3 separate regions of the Homo sapiens genome follow, and regions 1 and 2 are each linked to region 3. Evidence: promoter capture Hi-C in human tissues and cell types (Jung and others, 2019). All regions are on one chromosome and are shown on one strand. The core of a region is centred on a gene start or on the middle of the fragment in contact, and the rest is flanking DNA. Distances in the headings are between cores, read along the strand shown. Region 1 overlaps LOC105377136 (a long non-coding RNA gene). Region 2 has its middle 28 kb from the start of LINC01548. Region 3 holds the start of OLIG1 (oligodendrocyte transcription factor 1).

Region 1 (2,700 bases), core at 25-2,524, 150 kb after region 3:
GCTTCTGTTCTCTTCATTCCGTAGGTTTATATGTCTTCCAAAATACCTCCCCTGTTGTTGCTTTAGTGGGGTTTCAGGAGGGACTGGAGGCTAACCCCTGCATTCAACTCGCCATCCTTGAGTGGAAATCCCCACTCATCTCCTCTCAATGGCCTTGGCTTTGGGACTCTTCCTTTCCTATCTTTATCATAAAAATGATCGCATAAACAAAACCAAAGCCAAAGACTTCTCCAGTGCCCATGACCATTTTATTAACTTTGCTTTAATGTGGGAAGAGAAATCTATTTCCTCATTTCTTCACTTGTTGTGGAGCATCTAACAGGAGCAATGAAGGGAAGAAGACTTCAGAGCAAATTCCAAAGAAGGACCGAAGCGATTCTTCCCAATCCTTGGAAAACAACCCTAGCCAGATAGATCTTGATAAGCCCAGTGAACAACCTCATGGTGCGTGCGCTGCCCCCTGGTGGGCAGGCTGGTGCTGCTTTTAGGGTTCTCAGCTCTCCAAGATGGTCCAGGGAAGACCAAACATTGCCAGAAGAGGAGAGATTTGAACTCAGACTAGAAGAGAAGAGGAGAAAAGACGTTCTATATCTAAAATTCTTTTTCATTTTTTACCTATCAGTGTGTCTATGCCAGCATCAATCAATACACCCACTGTGTGTGGCCTATGAAGATAGTGAGATGTTGGTCAAAGGGATATAGCATTACTGAAGGAACAGCTATTTCTCTGGCTTCTAGGATGTTGCTACCCTTGCACAGAAGGAAAGTGCCCTTTGTAAGGAAGAAGACATGTCATTCCACATAAATCGCACCACCAGTCATGTCATCTGCACTACCATTTTATTAACCATTTTACAGCTGCACTATCCAATATGGTGGCCACTAATCACATGTGACTATTTAAATTCCAATGGATTAAAATGAGGAATTCAGCTTCTCAGTCACTCTAGCCACATCTCAAGTGCTCAACAGCCATATGTGGCTACCACACTGGACAATGCAGGTAAAGAACATTCCTGTCATTCCAGCAAGTTCTACTGGACAGTGCTGCTCTAGAGCCCTTGAAGGTGCCTGGAAGTTTCTGTGATTCTCACAGACAGACTTAAGCACACCCTTATCTGTGTTCCTACAAGTCTCTGTTCCCACCTTGGCCACAACATTCATCACAGTCTGACTTGAAATGGAGTTAGTCAAATAATATGCCTGTCTCTTCTCTTTGACCATAAACTCACGAGGGCTGGGACCAAGAAACCATTATTTGCCATTATTCTTAGCAGAGCCTGGCAAAGAGAGGTCCTTGAAGAAATATTAGTTGAAGGAATGACTCGATTATAAACTCCCTGAGGGCAGGTCCAGAATATTCTGATTTTTGTATTCCCCACAGTTCCTCAAGCAAAGAGGGAACCTCAGTAAATATCTGTCGAGTGATGGCATGCTGTCACATCCATCAGCCTGAAGACAGACCTTAGAGTCACTGAGATAAAAAGCCAGATTGCTGTGGCCTCTGCACTCACCAAATGTCTCTTGCCTCTGCCCCTGCACATCTGTCTCCTCTGGCTTTGCACCCCCCAGCTTGCCTCCATGTAGCAGGTCTGATCACAGGTAGCTCCCATCCCACTGTCCACATACACCCAGACGCATGCAGGCCCCATGCTCATGCCTGCCTTTGTCGCTTGGACCTCCTCCTGCCCTTCCATCCTACTCACTCTGCAAGGTCGGCAGAAGCTCCGCCCTCTCCCTGCGTCTGCTCCACCCACTCAGGCCCAGCTGATTTCAGGGAATTGGCCTGGAGCCCTTACAAATCCCCAATGTCTCCCTTTTTTAAATTCTTCTTATAATTCTAGGTAACACACTATACTGTGTTCTTGAATTCTTCGTGACTATTTTCAGCCACTAGTTTTTCTTTTCAACCAGATGGCAAATTCCATGAGGATTTTACTCTTATTTTGTGCTGAAGTCCTTTCTAGAATGGAAAAGGCAAGGCGAAATCCCAGTCCAATCACATTTTATAAATAAAGAGCTGAGTGCAGTGGCTCACGCCTGTAATCCCAACACTGTGGGAGGCAGAGGCAGGAGGATCACATGAGCCCAAAAGTTCAAGACCAGCCTGGGCAACATAGCGAGACCCCATCTCTACAAAAAAAATTCTGAAAATTAACCAGCCATGGCAGCACATGCCTGTGGTCCCAGCTACACCAGTGGCTGAGGCCAAAGGATCACATGAGCCCAGGAGTTTGAAGTTACAGTGAGCCATGATCACACCACAGCACTCCTGCCTGGGCAACAGAGAGAGACTCTGTCTCTAAAAATAAAATAAATATGAATAAGGAAACAGAGCCAGGGATTAAGGGGACCTGCTCAGGGTCACTCAGGTGAGAGCCTTATCTGCCTCACTCATAGATTTGGACCATAGATTTGTGCAGAGAAAGTTCAACCAATATGGAAAGAACCATGCTTCCGAGGGACTCTGCGTCAGCTCCTTAAGCCCAACTGCACTGGTTTCCTGCCTGCCTTCAGCTCACCAGCTTAGCTAGAGGAGCAGCATCTACCTTAGGCCTAGAAGAAAGTCTACATGCAGAGGAGGTGTCAGCTGTTAACTTGACAAAAGATAAGAGCCGAGGTCGTGATCTCCTAATGGCCAGCCAGCCTATTAGTTTAGCAATATATGTCTCCAATGTCAGAGCCATGCCTGGCGGAGGT
Region 2 (2,700 bases), core at 75-2,574, 130 kb before region 3:
AAAGTGCTTAGATTCTTCTTTTACAGAATCTATATAGAATAAAGAATGTAGAATCTTTGTAGAGTTCTTTGTAGAATCGATCGCCTGTAATCAGGGTTGATATTGACAATATTTAGCAACTGTTGCGGCTCTCTACTGTGTCTGCCATTAACCCTGTGGATGCTGGACTGTGAGGCTGGGCTGGGGATGGTCCTGGGGTGGGACTCAGTGGACAGGGTAGTGTGGGGAGGATTGAGATGGGGACATTCAGGGAAGTGACTGTGTACCAACCAGTGCAGAAGGATCAACCAGGCTGGAAGATACAGTCTCAAGGCTGAAGATCCGTGTGTCATCATAAAAAAATAGTTTCCTAATATCTGTTCTATAAAACTATCTTTTTATAAAACATCTTCAACTTAGTCTATTGCTCCTGGAAAGAGCCCACAAACAAATATGCTCTTATAAGCAAAAAATCTCTTCCTGGTATGGTTCACGGCTCTCCAAGACATATTCCTTGTCAGTCGGATTCATGCTATTATCCTCACTCTCCTCCTGGCAGTCAGGTTGTGTTGCTGAAACTATAAACACCGCAAGTCTGGAGATAAGATTTGGTGAATTGCAGTTAGAATGTTGAATTTTCTATCACTTTCCGCCTTGTGTTATTGCTACAAAACCAAACCTATCTATCACGCAGCAAGCGCTAACCACAGCAGCCTCTGTGTTTCTACCCTAGTTTTTGATTCTCTATTGTCCTAGTCTCTTGCAGACTAGAAATTGTAAGAGGAGGCATGGTTAATTGAGGGTGGGGTAGAAAGAAGGAAAAGAGGAGGCTAGCAGGGTAGAAACATAGATGATATTGACACATTGAGAAGAGATTGCTAATCTACCATCGTCATTGCTGGGACTCGAGAAGGGCCTTACTGGGATCCAGCCAGGATTAGCTCAGCCACTGCTGCTGTGGTTAGGGTTTGCTACACGATACTCTTTTGAACACATGCCATGGGGACAGTTCTGCACTTCTGCTCCCGTCTGTGGTGTGACAAGGCCGGCTCTGTTCCCTTTTTCCTTCTCAGTCTTAGCTTTTGAGACGCCATGAAACTGACAGTACTGGTTCTGATTATGTGCAAAAACTGGATTCCAACTGCCAAGCATTTCTTTCTCAACTTCTGATTAGCTGCAACTTAGTAGTCATTCAACCTTGAATAAAACAATTTCACCTGAATATAAAAACACGTTTAAAATTAAGAAATTGCTTGCTTACACAATATATTATTCTTTCTTTTTCTGGCATCTTCCTTGCGGTTTAGATGTCATATCGTAACTTCTCCTTCCCCAAAGGGTCAATCCAACTCTAGTGTCTTGTTCCATGTGGGTCTTTTGTTCCTTCCACCCATAATCTAAAGGTCCCAAGGCACTTCCCCTATCCTCCCTCAGCCAAGCTTCATCCTTGGGCTCTGCCCTAGAGTAACTCAGCTGACATCTTAAATATGTCTGATCATGCTAGTTTGTATAATTCCTGTTTTCTGCATGCAGACTATGTGTTTTTCCTAACACACCAGCAAATATTTAGTAACTTTAAATTTATGTGCCAGTATTTTGCAAAGTGCAGTGGGGGGGTACAAAGAATTGAAAACCTGATCTCATCAACTGGAGTTGACTACACATATGTAGGTACGGGAAAGAGTAAGATATAGAGGGTACCACCTGTAGCTGGAGTACCTCCAGCACCGGGCGATGCTTCCCACTTCTCTCCTCTGTAATGCACAGGAAACATTATATTTCCAAATATGATGCATTCCCATGGGTAGCAGTTGCTCTGCCTCTTTCCCAACCAAGAAAGCCTATGGAATTTAGGGATTGTTGGGATGTGATCAAAGGGACAACCTTAAATATCCACTGTTTCTAAGAAGGATCCTTGTTTAGACACTTAGGAACAAATTAACTTATCCCCCTTATCCTGCCCAGCATCCATCAGTGGGTTAGGGAGGTATGGCAGAGGATGGCTGGCAAAGATAGGGCCATTTTCTGCATACAGATCACACTGCAGAGAAATAAACTGAGTTCCCTAGCGGCCTTTGCCTCTGCACTGCTGATTGCAGTTGGTGCCACACTGTGCCAAGTGATAAGCTCTTGAAAAGGAGCAGTTGCGTCGTGTCCTCAGAGGAGGACTGTGTGGAATGTTTGTGTCTGCATATTCAAGCTTGTTGCCAGATCTGCTGTTTCTGGGCCTCTCTCATTCTCAACTTCCTTGTGTTGAAAAATGAAGATATGAATTCCTCTCTCACAAGGGCTGTTGTGGAAATTCAATAAAAGTAATTTTGTGAGAGCTTTTAGCACGGTGCTGGCATTCAAGTGGTTGGTTGCTCAATAAATATTTGCTGGGTGAAAAAAATCTGATATTTACTTCAGAGTTCACTATGTCATTTTTCTTAATGAAAGTATATCCAAGTAGATATCTTGCTAAAATAAGAACAGCTGGAAACTATCTTAAGTGGAATTGCCTGAAGAAGAGGTGTGTCCATTTTCATTGTTTTGTAGAGTTTAGTTCATCCAGCATATCCCTCGCTTCCTTTCCTTCTTTATAGGGTTCCACAAGGAGCTTTGCTGTGGGCGAACTGTTAGCTGGAGCTGTGATAATTAGGCCAAGGTCATGCATCTGTCCCTTGTGGGCCAGTTAGCTCAGCTTGGCTCCATGTCCATACGCATTGATCTTAACCCAGC
Region 3 (2,792 bases), core at 231-2,730:
TCTGCCTCTTGAGTTCCGGCAGCCTCCTTTGATAGGACCTGGCCGGCGGGAACAAGGGCGCCCGTGGCCTCTGGCGGAGGAGAAGGAAAAGAACCACCCCTCCGCCCCCGCCACTGCTCGAGCGCAGCCCCTAGTACTGGGAGCCGGCGTGCTCCGCTCCGGGGAGGTAGCGCTCGGGGATGGCCTCTCGCTGCACCCGGGGCGCGCCAACCACGGCAAGGCGCCCTAAGTTCTACATCGGCCCCGCGAAGCGCGCAACTCCAGGGACAAGGAGAGAGATGTGCTGGGTGAGAGCGAGCACTTTCTGCCTAAAGCCGCTGGAACCGACCCAGAACCCCAAACTGCCCCGAGGCGCCATCGAACATCCGCTCTGGTCACTTTAACGTCCCAGGGGTGGGGGCGGGGAAGGGGGTGCCCGACAGTCCCTTCCTCTGGACTGGAAGGTTCGAAATGCTTTCCTTGCTCGGCCTCGCTCTCCCAGACGCAGGGAGCAGGGGCGCGGAGAAGCTGAGCGAAGGGAGGCCGGGCCGAGGTCGCGCCCCAGGCCCAGGCCCGCCCTCACTTGGAGAATTGCGCCTGCACGGCGGCCAGGCCCAGGCTGGCCGGGACCAGGTGCGGGAACTTGCACACGGCGCAGGTGCAGAGGCCGGGGCCGCCTGCGCCGCCGCCGGGGAGAGCGAACTGGCCGCACGGCGGCTCGTCCAGCGCCAGCGACAGGTACTTGGCGGGGCGCAGCGCGTCGGGGGGTCCTACGGCGCCGGGCGCCAGCAGCACGGAGCCGGGCGCGGCGGCGAGCAGGGGCAGCCCGGCCAGCAGCAGGCGCGGCGCGGCGGGCCCGGCGCCCTCGCCCAGCGCGCGGCGCAGCTCCTGCAGCGAGCTGCCCAGCAGTAGGATGTAGTTGCGGGCGAGCAGCAGCGTGGCTATCTTGGAGAGCTTGCGGCCGGGCGCGCCCTGGCAGTGCGCCGCTGAGTAGGGCAGGATGACCTCGCGCAGGGCGTCCATGGCCAGGTTCAGGTCCTGCATGCGCTTCCGCTCGCGGCTGTTGATCTTGCGCCGCAGCTGCTGCTGCTGCTCCTCCTTGGCGTCCGGCCGGGCGCTGCCGCCCGGGTGCGCGCCTGACCCGGGCCCGGGGCCTGGAGGCTCGGCCGGCGCCTCCGGCTTCTCGCGCGCAGCCTTGGGGAGGAGGGGGGCCGTCGTGGAGGAGGAGGAAGTGGAGGAGGTGGAGGAGGTGGAGGAGGAGGAGGAGGAGGGCGGCTGCCTGTAGCCCACCAGCTCGTAGAGGGAGGCCCCGAGCTGCAAGTCTCCGGGCCGCTGTGGCCGCAGCATGGTCCCGGGGACCGCGTTCACGCGCGCCTGGGAAACCGCATAGTACATCTGGGAGGCGGTGGGGGCGGCCGAGGACGCCCTTCAGGAACGCCCTGGGGTGGGCCGGTCGGCAGGCCGCCCCTCCCCGCGGACCTGCGCGCGGGGAAACGATGGTGGGGCCCTGGCCCGCGCCCTACCCCTTTAAACCCGGCTTGGGAACCTGCGGGGCAGCGGGTGGCGGGGCGCAGCCAATGGAGGCGCGAGGCCGGGCGCAGCCGCGTGTTCATTGGCTGCTTGTGCCGGGGCCGCGCGGAGGTGCGGCTGGCACCGCTTTAGGAGGTTATTGTGAGCGCCTGTGCCAGCCGCGCGGGACAGGCCCCCTGAGCGGAGTAAGGGCGCCTTTTCAAGGCAAGCGGGGCTGTTGAAGGAGGACTGGTCGCACTGGTCAGGCTGCAACTCACGTGCCTTCCTCCAGCAACTGTCTACTCAAAAACAACCTCCCTCATATTTTTTTTTAACTGTGATCACATATTCATAACATAAAATTTACCGTCTTATGTTTAGAGTACTGTTCAGTAATGTTATATGCATTAGTGTGCACATTAAATTGATTTAAATTAAATTCACATTGTTGTGCAACCCATCTCCAGAACTCTTTTCAACTTGCAACCCTGAAGCTCCACCCATTAAACAACTCCCCACTCCCCCCGACCCAAGTTCCTGGAATTCACTCTTCTGTTCTGTCTCTATGAATTTGTTCTACTCTAGGTCCCTCATATAAGTAGAATCATACAGCACTTGTCTTTTAGTGACTGGCTTCTTTCACTTAGCATATTGTCGTCAAGGTTTATCCATGTTGTAGCATGTATCAAAGTTTCTTCCTTTTCAAGGCTGAATAATATTCCAGTATATGGATATACCACATTTGGTTTATCCATTCATTCGTTGATGGACATTTGGGGTGCTTTTGGTTGTTGCGAATTATGCTGCTATGAACATGAGTGTATCATGTTTTTTTTTTCTTAAAATACATAATTTCCTGCCAGGTTCAGGTCGCTAAATTTCTGGACTAAATGACAAGTAGCATTAGGATATTTCCTCCCTGCTGCTCCCAACCTCCTTCCCCATCCCTCTGATTGAAAGGTCTTTAGGGACAAAGGAGCCTTTGGGTCGGGTTTCTATCCTCCCCGAAAGGGATGGTCTATCAGCAACTTGACATTTGCTTAAGCAAAAGTCACTCAGAAATTGGCCTCTTATTAGAAACAAAACAAAACACCCACATAGTCCTATCGGTTGAGGGTGGGAATGAATCATTTTATTTGCCAAATAGAATAGCATTACTTGGTGTCTATGGACATTTTCTGCCCCCAGCACCAGTGCATGCTACTATAACTTGTCAATGTCCTGGGGAAGAGGGCATCTTGGTGGCTGTGCTTGCTGGTTTCAGGGCTGCTTTGTTCTGGTTTTCTTCCACCAATATTTGCCAC

Evidence for each region. Contacts are between HindIII fragments. The study calls those that stand out against the background at their distance.
Region 1: a contact is called between a fragment that was not itself captured here and the fragment with the promoter of OLIG1 in region 3, in 1 of the 25 tissues and cell types used here (lymphoblastoid cells).
Region 2: a fragment that was not itself captured here is called in contact with the fragment with the promoter of OLIG1 in region 3 in 1 of the 25 tissues and cell types used here (hippocampus).

Annotation. Positions count from the first base shown.
Region 1 is chr21:32,919,627-32,922,326 of GRCh38, reverse strand. The region is part of intron 4 of LOC105377136 (a long non-coding RNA gene); the gene reads right to left. Among named protein-coding and RNA genes, the nearest start is that of LINC01690, 38 kb to the left of the region's middle. RefSeq lists an enhancer at 2,520-2,700. The HindIII fragment of the contact is 7,002 bases long and covers 1-2,700 here.
Region 2 is chr21:33,197,184-33,199,883 of GRCh38, reverse strand. No RefSeq gene overlaps it. Among named protein-coding and RNA genes, the nearest start is that of LINC01548, 28 kb to the right of the region's middle. The HindIII fragment of the contact is 3,160 bases long and covers 1-2,700 here.
Region 3 is chr21:33,068,829-33,071,620 of GRCh38, reverse strand. It overlaps OLIG1 (oligodendrocyte transcription factor 1), which reads right to left and starts at 1,480. Exons shown (of 1, transcript NM_138983.3): 1 at 1-1,480. The coding sequence starts at 1,374. The coding sequence ends at 559. The HindIII fragment of the contact is 10,124 bases long and covers 1-2,792 here.